Regions from separate parts of the Homo sapiens genome. Here region 2 is linked to region 1. Evidence: promoter capture Hi-C in 16 types of primary human blood cells and fetal thymus (Javierre and others, 2016). All regions are on one chromosome and are shown on one strand. Each heading gives the region's core, a stretch centred on a gene start or on the middle of the fragment in contact. The rest is flanking DNA. Distances are from core to core; before and after follow the strand shown.

What was found. The method cuts DNA at HindIII sites, captures the fragments that hold promoters and counts their contacts. A CHiCAGO score of 5 or more calls a contact.
Region 2: a contact is called between the fragment with the promoter of ING5 here and the fragment with the promoter of RNPEPL1 in region 1, in 2 of 17 cell types (naive CD8 T cells and neutrophils). The highest score is 8.7, in naive CD8 T cells.

The regions. Positions count from the first base shown.
Region 1 is chr2:240,565,584-240,570,384 of GRCh38, forward strand. RNPEPL1 (arginyl aminopeptidase like 1) reads left to right here and starts at 2,901. Exons shown (of 11, transcript NM_018226.6): 1 at 2,901-3,531. The coding sequence starts at 3,004. RefSeq lists silencers at 868-1,107, 2,618-2,877, 2,908-2,967, 3,108-3,297, 3,538-3,587 and enhancers at 3,348-3,986, 3,858-4,037, 3,987-4,625. The HindIII fragment of the contact is 8,327 bases long and covers 665-4,801 here.
Region 2 is chr2:241,700,514-241,705,180 of GRCh38, forward strand. It overlaps ING5 (inhibitor of growth family member 5), which reads left to right and starts at 1,526. Exons shown (of 8, transcript NM_032329.6): 1 at 1,526-1,589; 2 at 4,140-4,211. The coding sequence starts at 1,553. RefSeq lists silencers at 820-1,639, 1,382-1,545, 1,730-2,289 and enhancers at 944-1,776, 2,015-2,644. The HindIII fragment of the contact is 17,390 bases long and covers 1-4,667 here.

The sequences.
Region 1 (4,801 bases), core at 1,651-4,150:
ACCTGGGGACCGAACATCTCTGATGCGGCAGAGCCCAAAGCTGGGGGGATGGGAAGCACGGGTTTTGTCAGCCAAGCGTGGGGGTGGTAGTGAGAAGGGCCTTCTCCCTCCCCACGCCTTGTGTACCTGGGCCTCAAGCATAGGCCACACCTTGTTGGTCGCTGCCCCTCTATGCCGTGTCACCAGCCGGCACCACCCATCGCTGTGGACCGCGGCCCCCATCACAAGCTGGTGCCCAGGGCAGTCCCCATCTCTGTGGAGGGCTTGCCTGCCGCTGGCCTCTCTAGATAAGCTCCTCATGACTCATGCAACCTTTTCATCAACCCGGAAGGAAGCAGCCGCCGGTCGCCACTAGTGGGTGAGGAACAGTGGCTTGGAGAGGAGGGAGGACCTGGGTCTGCGGTTTCCCCCGCGGCTCAGCCCTGCTCACAACACCCTGATGAAAACCTCGGCTGCCCTTGCCTCAGGGCAGGGCACACCCTTTACCTGCTGACCTGGCCCTGGTGACAAGGGGACAAGGGCAGCAGGGCCCCGGCCAGGTTGAAGGACACCTGTGGGTCACATCAGACCTTTTTAGCCCACCAGCTCCATCTGAGAACTGGTAGCTCCCTGGTCCTCTGTCGGGGTTGGGCGCGGCCCTGTCTGAACACTGCTTCTTCCTGGAAGCTTTGCTGCCCTCCCCAGCCTGCTAAAACGCTCCATGCCCACACCCACCTCCTAGTGGGTGAAGCCAGGAACCCCTCCCTCGGGTGCATCAGGGGAAGGCTGGGGTGCAGATGCCGCGCAGCCACTTCACTGCGCTGATCACCAAAAAGCTGGAGTATGAAAACTCCTGTGGGAGAAAGCCAGGGCTGACAGTCGCGACGTCCAGGCTCCTCTGCCAGGGTTAGAGAAGTCAGAGGTGTCTGCCCAGGCCTGCATGCGGCGTAGCCTCCCGCCGCCAGGGGGCGTCAGGCCGGCGGGGGCGGGGCCTCCTCGGGCGGGGCGGGGCGGGGCGGGGCCGGCGCGAGAGGCTCCCGCGGCTCAGTTGCAGACCCCGCCCCCTCGGCTCAGCCGCGCCTCCCGCTCCATGGGGTGCAGTAGGGCAGCTCCTCACATACGTGCGCGGTGGGAGGCGCTCCCTTGGGCCCCCGGGGAGGAGGTGCCACAGCAACTCTGGACTCCTGTGTGCAGAACTGGCCGCGGAGAGGTGCCCAGGGCGAGACCCCAACCTCTGCTCCCTGAGCCCAATGCGGGGCTCTGGGTGGCAAGACCCCAAGCTCCCTGTGGTGACTTGCCCCCCGGACGGCCAGGCCCAGCTAGTGTGGCACCGCGTGTGCAGAACTGAGGTTCTTCCAGCCAGGAACATGGCCCGGTGGGCTCTGGAGAGCCCCGTAGAACTGGGGGTGCCATCGAAAACAGTCTGCCCTTGGCACTGCAGGGCCCCACCGGGCAGGGCGCTGGGGGCAGTGAGGAGGGTCCCATCTCAGCTGTCTTCCCTGTCAGCCTTGGATGCGAGGCTGATCCACACCTCTGAGTGACTGTGTAAGCCTAGGGGTTCCTGGTGAGTTTGGGATGGGTGCCCCAAGATCGTGGCCGTGTCCCTAAAGAGGGCACGTGGGGACCTGAGGTCCTACGGGAAAACTGAAATGATGCCTCAGTGCTCTGTCCCGCAAACGTGAACGCACACTCTCCCTCTCAGCCTTCCTTCCCGCCCCACGGAAGGAGGGTAGACACAGAGGGTTACACAACGAGGAGACTGAGTCCAGACACAGGAAACACTACTCAGGGCTGACGCTGAGTCGAGTGCGGTACCCGAGTCCAGCCCTGCACGGCCACACCTCAATGGAGCAGAAGAGAGAGGTGTCCTGGGTTCCTGGATAGTTCCCCAGCCCCAGAAGCCCCTTGTCCCTAGGAATTTGAATTCTTACTTGATGACAACAGCGACATCATGGTGGCCCCTGTTATTCCACAGCCTCAAAATTTAACCGCTGTGAGCTCACTAGCAGCTTCTGCCAGGCGAGCACCCCTTCCCTCGGGGCTCAGGCTCCTGGACAGGCTCAGCCTTGGGCAGCCTTCGCCAGGTCCACAGAGAATGGCGTTGGGAAGGGTGGACCTGGCGGATGGGGTGGGGACAGGCGGGCCAGACCCTCCTTCGTACCCCAGCACAGGGCTCCCAAATGAGAGGTCCCCAGCACTGCCCAGAGGAACTTCTGCGATTGTGGAAATGATTCCTGCCTGCTTTGTCCATTAGCCACTCCTCCCAGGAAGACACACACACTCACTCACTCCACCTGCCACGAAGGAACTGAACTTCTAACTGTATTTAATTCGCATCTAAATGGCCACACGTGGTTGGTGGCTGCTGTAGTTGACAGCGCTGCGTGAAGGCTCCGGCGCTTCTCGCACCGCAGGGCCCACAGCACAGACCACACCTGTAGACTTGGAGGAGTGGCAGGGGTGCCAGGAGAATCCTGCCCTGCCCGTAGCCCCGGATGAAAGGATGACATTGAGTTCGCGACGCTGCGCTCCTCGGGAACACGAACCACACCTGGAAGCAGCCTGCCCCTGTGGCCCCAAGGTTCCCGGGTCCCTTCAGCGGCTGCCCCAGGGGCCTGGCCGGCAGTGTCTGGGAGGGAGCAGCGATCCCGCCTCCTGGGATCTCCCGGGCGCCGCCCGGGGAGGAAGCGAGGGGCTGGGGGTGCTGCTCACCCGCTCCGCGCGCCTCGGCTCCCAACACAGCGCCCCGGCCCCGCGCCGCGCTCGATTCCCCGGCTCCCCGCGCCCCTGGCTCCTGGCCCTCCCCGCCCGGCGCCCCGGCCCCGCGCCCCGGCCCCGCGCACAGCGCCCCCGGCGGCGGCCGAGCGGAGCCCGAGCGGGGCGGCGCACGGCGCGGGGCCGGGCCGGGCGGCTCCCGGCGCGACTTCCTGTTGTGCCCGCGCCCCGCCGCCGCCGCCGCCCGGCGCCCCTCGCCCGCGGCCCGGCGCGGCCGCCGCCCATGGATTTCACCTAGTGCCGGCGGCCATGGCCGCGCAGTGCTGCTGCCGCCAGGCGCCCGGCGCCGAGGCCGCGCCCGTCCGCCCGCCGCCCGAGCCGCCGCCCGCCCTGGACGTGGCCTCGGCCTCCAGCGCGCAGCTCTTCCGCCTCCGCCACCTGCAGCTGGGCCTGGAGCTGCGGCCCGAGGCGCGCGAGTTGGCCGGCTGCCTGGTGCTCGAGCTGTGCGCGCTGCGGCCCGCGCCCCGCGCGCTCGTGCTCGACGCGCACCCGGCTCTGCGCCTGCACTCAGCCGCCTTCCGTCGCGCCCCCGCCGCCGCCGCCGAGACGCCCTGCGCCTTCGCCTTCTCCGCCCCCGGGCCGGGGCCCGCGCCGCCGCCCCCGCTGCCCGCCTTCCCCGAGGCGCCCGGCTCCGAGCCCGCCTGCTGTCCGCTGGCCTTCAGGGTGGACCCGTTCACCGACTACGGCTCCTCGCTCACCGTCACGCTGCCGCCCGAGCTGCAGGCGCACCAGCCCTTCCAGGTCATCCTGCGGTACACCTCGACCGACGCCCCCGCCGTGAGTCCGGGGCGGGCGCCGGGGCTGCGGGCCGGTCCGCAGGGCGCTGCTAGCGGCCTCTCGCCGCACGGCCAGGCTGAGGGACGCGAATCTGCGCCCTACAGGTGCCCCCCTCCCCCCACCCCGGTGATTCCCAGCTGTTGCCTGTGAGCCCTTAGGACCCTCGGATAGAAGCCGGAGTCCTGCGGGGACACGGGACAGCATGTCACTCCGGGAAGCCTCCCGTTCAGGTGTCTGGTCCCTGCCTGGGGACATGAGCAGCTTCTGTCACCCACCGAGGTGTACATCTGCAGGATCCTGGCACCAAGGGTTGGGCTGGAGTGTCAGCTGCGGAAGGGCCTCCATGTGACCAGTGCGTGCAGATGAGTCCAAGCCAGAGGCAGAGGAAAGGGCCATGGAGATTGTGATGCTCGGTTTGGGGCTTCCTTGGCCAGCACTGGTGGAGTGTTGAGACCAGTGGGCCCCGCGACCCCAACATAGACACACATAGGCTCTGCAGGGCTTGCACACTGGGTACCCACCACTCCAGAGACTCTGCAAGAAAGGCCAGGTGGCTGAGGCTGGCGCTGTGGCTGCAGCACCCCCTCCACCTCCACCAGTGGGGATGTGTACAGGATGGAGCAGGGCCTTTCCTGCCTACAGCATGGGGGTTCATACTGCATCCCTAGGTGGTATGGACGGCACACATGTGACACCCGACATATGCAAGACACACACAGCTGTGGAGGCGCTGGGAAGTCCAGCTGTCACTGGTCACGGCACATAAATGGACAGGGTGGTGGAGAGGTGGTCGAGAGGCTTCAGGCCACAAAGAGCCAAGGTGACATCTGGGCAGGAAGAACCCAGACCAGTGCACCCCTATGGGCTTCCTGTACATTTCCCAGGAGCCCTAAGCAGGACCTGCCACCTCACCTTTTTCCCAGAACCCCTGTGGGTGTGCAGGCCGCTGGCTAGCCGGCCCCGCCCCTGCTGTGGTATTCCAGGGCTCTGACCGGTGGCAAGTATGCCTCCCAGTATGACAGGTGAGAACTGAGGGATGGGCTTCTCCTTGGCCTTGATCCGTGTTTGGAGCCCACGTGTCTGGTCCGCCCAACACTGGCCTGCAGAGTGGCCGGACCAGGGCCCTCAGCAGGCTGCTGTGAACGGGGCCCAGTGAGCAAGGGTGGCCATTGTCTCTTGGCTTCCTATGGCCTACTGGGTGGCCCTTGGGTACTCTGGGCAGGGAGAGTGGCATAGTCCCCCAAGTCTGCGTGGTGTCAGGGTTGGCAGG
Region 2 (4,667 bases), core at 276-2,775, 1.1 Mb after region 1:
GGTGCAATCTCGGCTCACTGCAACCTCCGCCTCCCAAGCTCAAGCGATTCTCCTGTTTCAGCCTCCCGAGTATCTGGGATTACAGGTACTTGCCACCATGCCCGGCTAGTTTTTGTATTATTATTATTTTGAGACGGAGTCTTGCTCTTGTCACCCAAGCTGCAGTGCAGTTACATGATCTCTTCTCACTGCAACCTCCCTCTCCCAAGTTCAAGTAATTTTCCTGCCTCAGTCTCCGAGTAGCTGGGAGTACAGGCGCCCGCCACCACGCCCGGGTAATTTTTGTATTTTTAGTAGAGACATGATTTCGCCACGTTGGCCAGGCTGGTCTCAAATTCCTGCCCTCAAGTGATCCGCCCGCCTCGGCCTCCCAAAGTGTTGGGATTACAGGCGTGAGCCACCGTGCCGAGTCTGAAACATATTTTAATTATGTTTCTCCAGTATTTTTTTTTTCTTAAAATTTTCTTTTTTTTTTTTGAAGACAGAGTCTTGCTCTGTCGCCCAGGCTGGAGTGCAGACGCGATCTCAGCTCACTACAACCTCCGCCTCCCGGGCTCAGCCTCCGGAGTAGCTGGGACTACAGGCGTGCGCCACCACGCTTGGCTAATTTTTTTTTTTTTTTGTATTTTTAGTAGAGTCGGGGTTTCAACACGTTGGCCAGGCTGGTCTCAAATTCCTGCCCTCAAGTGATCCGCCCGCCTCGGCCTCCCAAAGTGATGGGATTACAGGCGTGCGCCAGCGCGCCGGCCTTCTCCAGTATTTTTGCATGCATCTTACGGCACACCTTTGCACGCCATCTTATTAACTATATCATACTGCCGCACGTGCCTTTTCGGCCAAGGCATCCAGATGGTGCGGGTCCTGCCTGCCTCGAGAGGTGGCAGCAAAGGAGCCAGTGCCCTCACTGGTGCTGGGCGGGGCGGCCGCTTTCCTCGGAGGGAAGGGGCGGCGTTGGCGGGGGAAGGGCGCCAGGGCCCAGGCCCTGAGGGAGGGGCAGCTCGCCCGGGCCACGCGGTGCCGGCCCTCGGCTCAGGCCGGGCTGAGGCCCCGGGGGCTCGGGGTCCGGGGGAAAGGCGCTGAGCCAGACAGGTCCCAAGGAGCCTTCGGGAAGGGAGGGCCTCGTGGCGGCCTGTCCGGGACCCGGCCGGGAGCAGGGGTCGCGTGGGCGCCGTCAGGACGGGCGTGAGGTCCCCGGGACCACGTGTTTGCGTTTGGTGGCCCAGGGGTCGCTGACAGGTGCGGAGGGGAGACGCCCACCTGGGTGCCCTGGGCCGCACGCCGGGCGGTGGGGCCGGGAACCCCTGCTCCTCCTCGGCCTCCGATCCGCTGCGGCCCTGGGTCCTGCTCGCTGCCCGACGCCGCTGCCACAACCTCCGCCCGGGCCCCGCAGCCCGCCGCCCGCCGGAAGCTGAAAGGCGTGTCCGACCCCGCCCCCGGGCGCGACCAATCAGCGCGCGCGACTCATGAATAGTGAGCGCGCTGGCACCGCCCCGCCCCCGCCTCCCGCGGCACCGCCCGCCCGCGCAGACCCCGAGCGCGGCCGCGGACGAAGATGGCGACCGCCATGTACTTGGAGCACTATCTGGACAGTAAGCGCGCCCCACGGGCCCCGCGCCCGCCGCCCACGCGGAGTCCTCCGTGCCGCAGCCCCCCGCGCGCCGGGCACCGCATGCAGACCCCGTGGGCTCGGGAGGGCGGCGGGCGCGGCCGGGCGCGACGGGGGGCGCGCGGACGGGGCGGGGCAGGGCCGCAAGGGAGGGGAGGGCGCGGGGGGCGGGCGCGGGGGGTCCCGCCGGCTGGGTCGCGCCAATTCCAGGTGCGTCACGGCGGGGCGGGGCCTGGCGATGCTGGGCGGGGCTTGCGGCCTCGACCCCGCCCACATATTAGGTCCCGCCCCTACCCAGGCCCCGCCTCATCTCCGCCCCCAGCTCCGGCCCCGGCCCCGCCAGGTCCCGCCCGTCCCTGTCCCGTCTGCAGGAGGAGCTGGCGCCCGCTGCGGGGCTCCGGGCCTTGGGGGCTCCGGGGTCTGGGCCTCCGCCTGGCTGTGCGCCCGTGTGCGCCGGCCTCTTGTGTGACCGCGGCTGGGGAGGGCGTGCGGGCCGCGGGGCGTCTCTCCCCGGCACTGGGGACTGCGGCGCGGAGGCGGGGAGGGCGGTGCCGAGTCGGCCCTGGTGGGCGGGCTGTGCTGTTTCCAGGTGGCAGCAGGTCGGCGCCCCCAGCGGCTGAGCGGACGGTGCTTTCCCTCACTTTACACACCAGGGAAGGTCCAGCGCTGCCGAGCAGCCTGCTCAGGGTCTCCCGCTCGTAGAGGGGCAGACCCCACGCGGGACCCCTGACGTCGGCCCGGGATGGGCACAGCTTTGGGGTCGCGGTGTTTGGGGTTGTGCCGGGTGGCTCTGGAGGGCCCTTGTGGGGGCGCTGCACTGGGGATCCTCATGGTCTTCGGCCTGGCACCCGCCCAGGGGCTGAGACAGTGGCGAGTGAGCCGTGGCCTGGAGCTGGAGACCGCTGCCCTAGAGGGACGCCCGATTCTGCCCATGTGCTCCGCTGTCTCTTGGGGGTCTGAGTAGTGGGGGGTTCCCTGGGTAGAAGAGTCAAGCTGGGGAGCACGCTGGAGGGGAGGCCTTCTCTATCCTGGTGCCCAGCCAGTGGGCTGGCCTCCCAAGGAGGGTTGACTTTGTGTGTGTCTGGGAGGCTGTGCCAGCCGGGAGGCTGTGCCTCTGTCCTCTAGGGGAGCTGGGAAAACACTGGGGCTGGAAGCATCAGATGCATAAGATAGAGTTAGGTTTAAAATGATTGCCTGGTAACTGTGAACAGCAGATGGGAGGGTGGCCAAGACTGGAGGAGGCAGCCCCCCTTAGGAGCCTGTGTCAGCTGTGCAGGGGGCGGAGGTTGGCCTGGTCTAGGGGGTAACAAAGCAGACGCGAAAGCAGCACGGGGGTCCTCCTGGCAGACTGTGGGGAATGGTTGCGCTAGCCACAGGGACTATTTAAGTAAAATTAAAAATTGAATGGCGTTAGTCCCATTTCCAGTGCTCAGTAGCTCCCTATGGCCACCACTGTCTTGGGCAGCTCAGAGAGAACATTTCTTTTCTTTTTCTTTTTTTGATTTTTTTTGAAATGGAGTCTCACCCTGTTGCCCAGGTTGGAGGGTATGATCTCAGCACACTGCAACCTCCACCTCCCAGGTTCAAGCAATTCTCATGCCCTAGCCTCTCGAGTAGCTGGGACTGTAGCTGTGCACCACCACGCCTGGATAATTTTTGTATTTTTAGTAGAGACAGGGTTTCACCATGTTGGCCAGGCTGGTCTTGAACTCCTGACCTCAACTGATTTGCCTGTCTTGATCTCCCAAAGTGCTGGGATTACAGGTATGAGCCACCACGCCCATCCGAGAGAGGAAACATTTCTATCCTTGCATAAAGTCGCGTGGGCAGCGTGGCTACACTGCTCAATGCACTGGATTTCTGGGTAAAGTAGGGGAAGATCAAGGAGGACCCAGGGGATTTTGGCTTGAGCCTTGGAAGATGCTGCTCACTGAGGGGGGGCAGCCTAGAGGGTGGGGTCAGTTGGCCTCCCCTGCCTGTGCTGTTGGTTTCCAAGTTTCCCTCTCCCTTCTTTGACTTCTGACAGCTTCCGAAGTGTGCACACAGCCTCTTGTCAGCACTGTTTGGTACCTGCATCTAAAAATGAGATCACAGTCCTTCCGCTCCGCAAACCCTGACAGAGACAGAATACAGAGTGGGCTTGTAGACTTGAAGTATAAAACTTTTGGCCAGTCCTGGTGGCTCACACCTGTAATCCCAGCACTTTGAGAGGCCGAGGTGGGCGGATCACCTGAGGTCAGGAGTTCGAGACAAGCCTGGCCAACCTTGTGAAACCCCGTCTCAACTAAAAATACAAAAACTAGCCGGGCATGGTGGCATGTGCCTGTAATCCCAGCTACTCAGGAGGCGGAGGCGTGAGAATCACTTGAACCTGGGAGGTGTAGGTTGCAGTGAGCCAAGATCGCACCACTGCACTCCAGCCTGGGCAACAAGAGTGAAACTCCATCTCAAAAAAAAAAGACAGAAAACCTTTGGAGGTGAATTTTTGTCTTGCTGCTGAGAGGTACATGGCTTCTGTGTTTTTGCGTTTCAGGTATCGAGAACCTTCCCTGCGAACTTCAGAGGAACTTCCAGCTGATGCGAGAGCTGGACCAGAGGACGGAAGGTGGGTTCAGACCTCTCCATACAACCAGAACTGAGTTCTGACAGGTGGGAGCCAGCAGCTCCTGAAGGCTGGGGGCAGAGGGTTTTGAGGGGACCCAGGTTAGTGGGGCATTGGCCTAGCCCTGGGCCGTGGGTATCACTCAGTGTCTTGCAGTAGGTGTTGATACTTTTGAAGCCACATTGTTTCTTGGGTTCTTACACATCTTTATATCATGTTTTTATAACCATCACCCTTTCCAATCAAAATATTTATTGCCAATTTTTTCTTTTAAATATTTTCAATTTTCAAAGTGTGTAGTGCGTGCATTGTTTTAAAAGTTTGGTAGTACTTTTTGGCCGTTTGATATTTAACTCCGTTTCTTTTTTTTTGAGACGGAGTCTTGCTTTGTCGCCCAGTCCGGAGTGCAGTGACGTGATCTCAGCTCACTGCAAGCTCTGCCTCCTGGGTTCACACCAT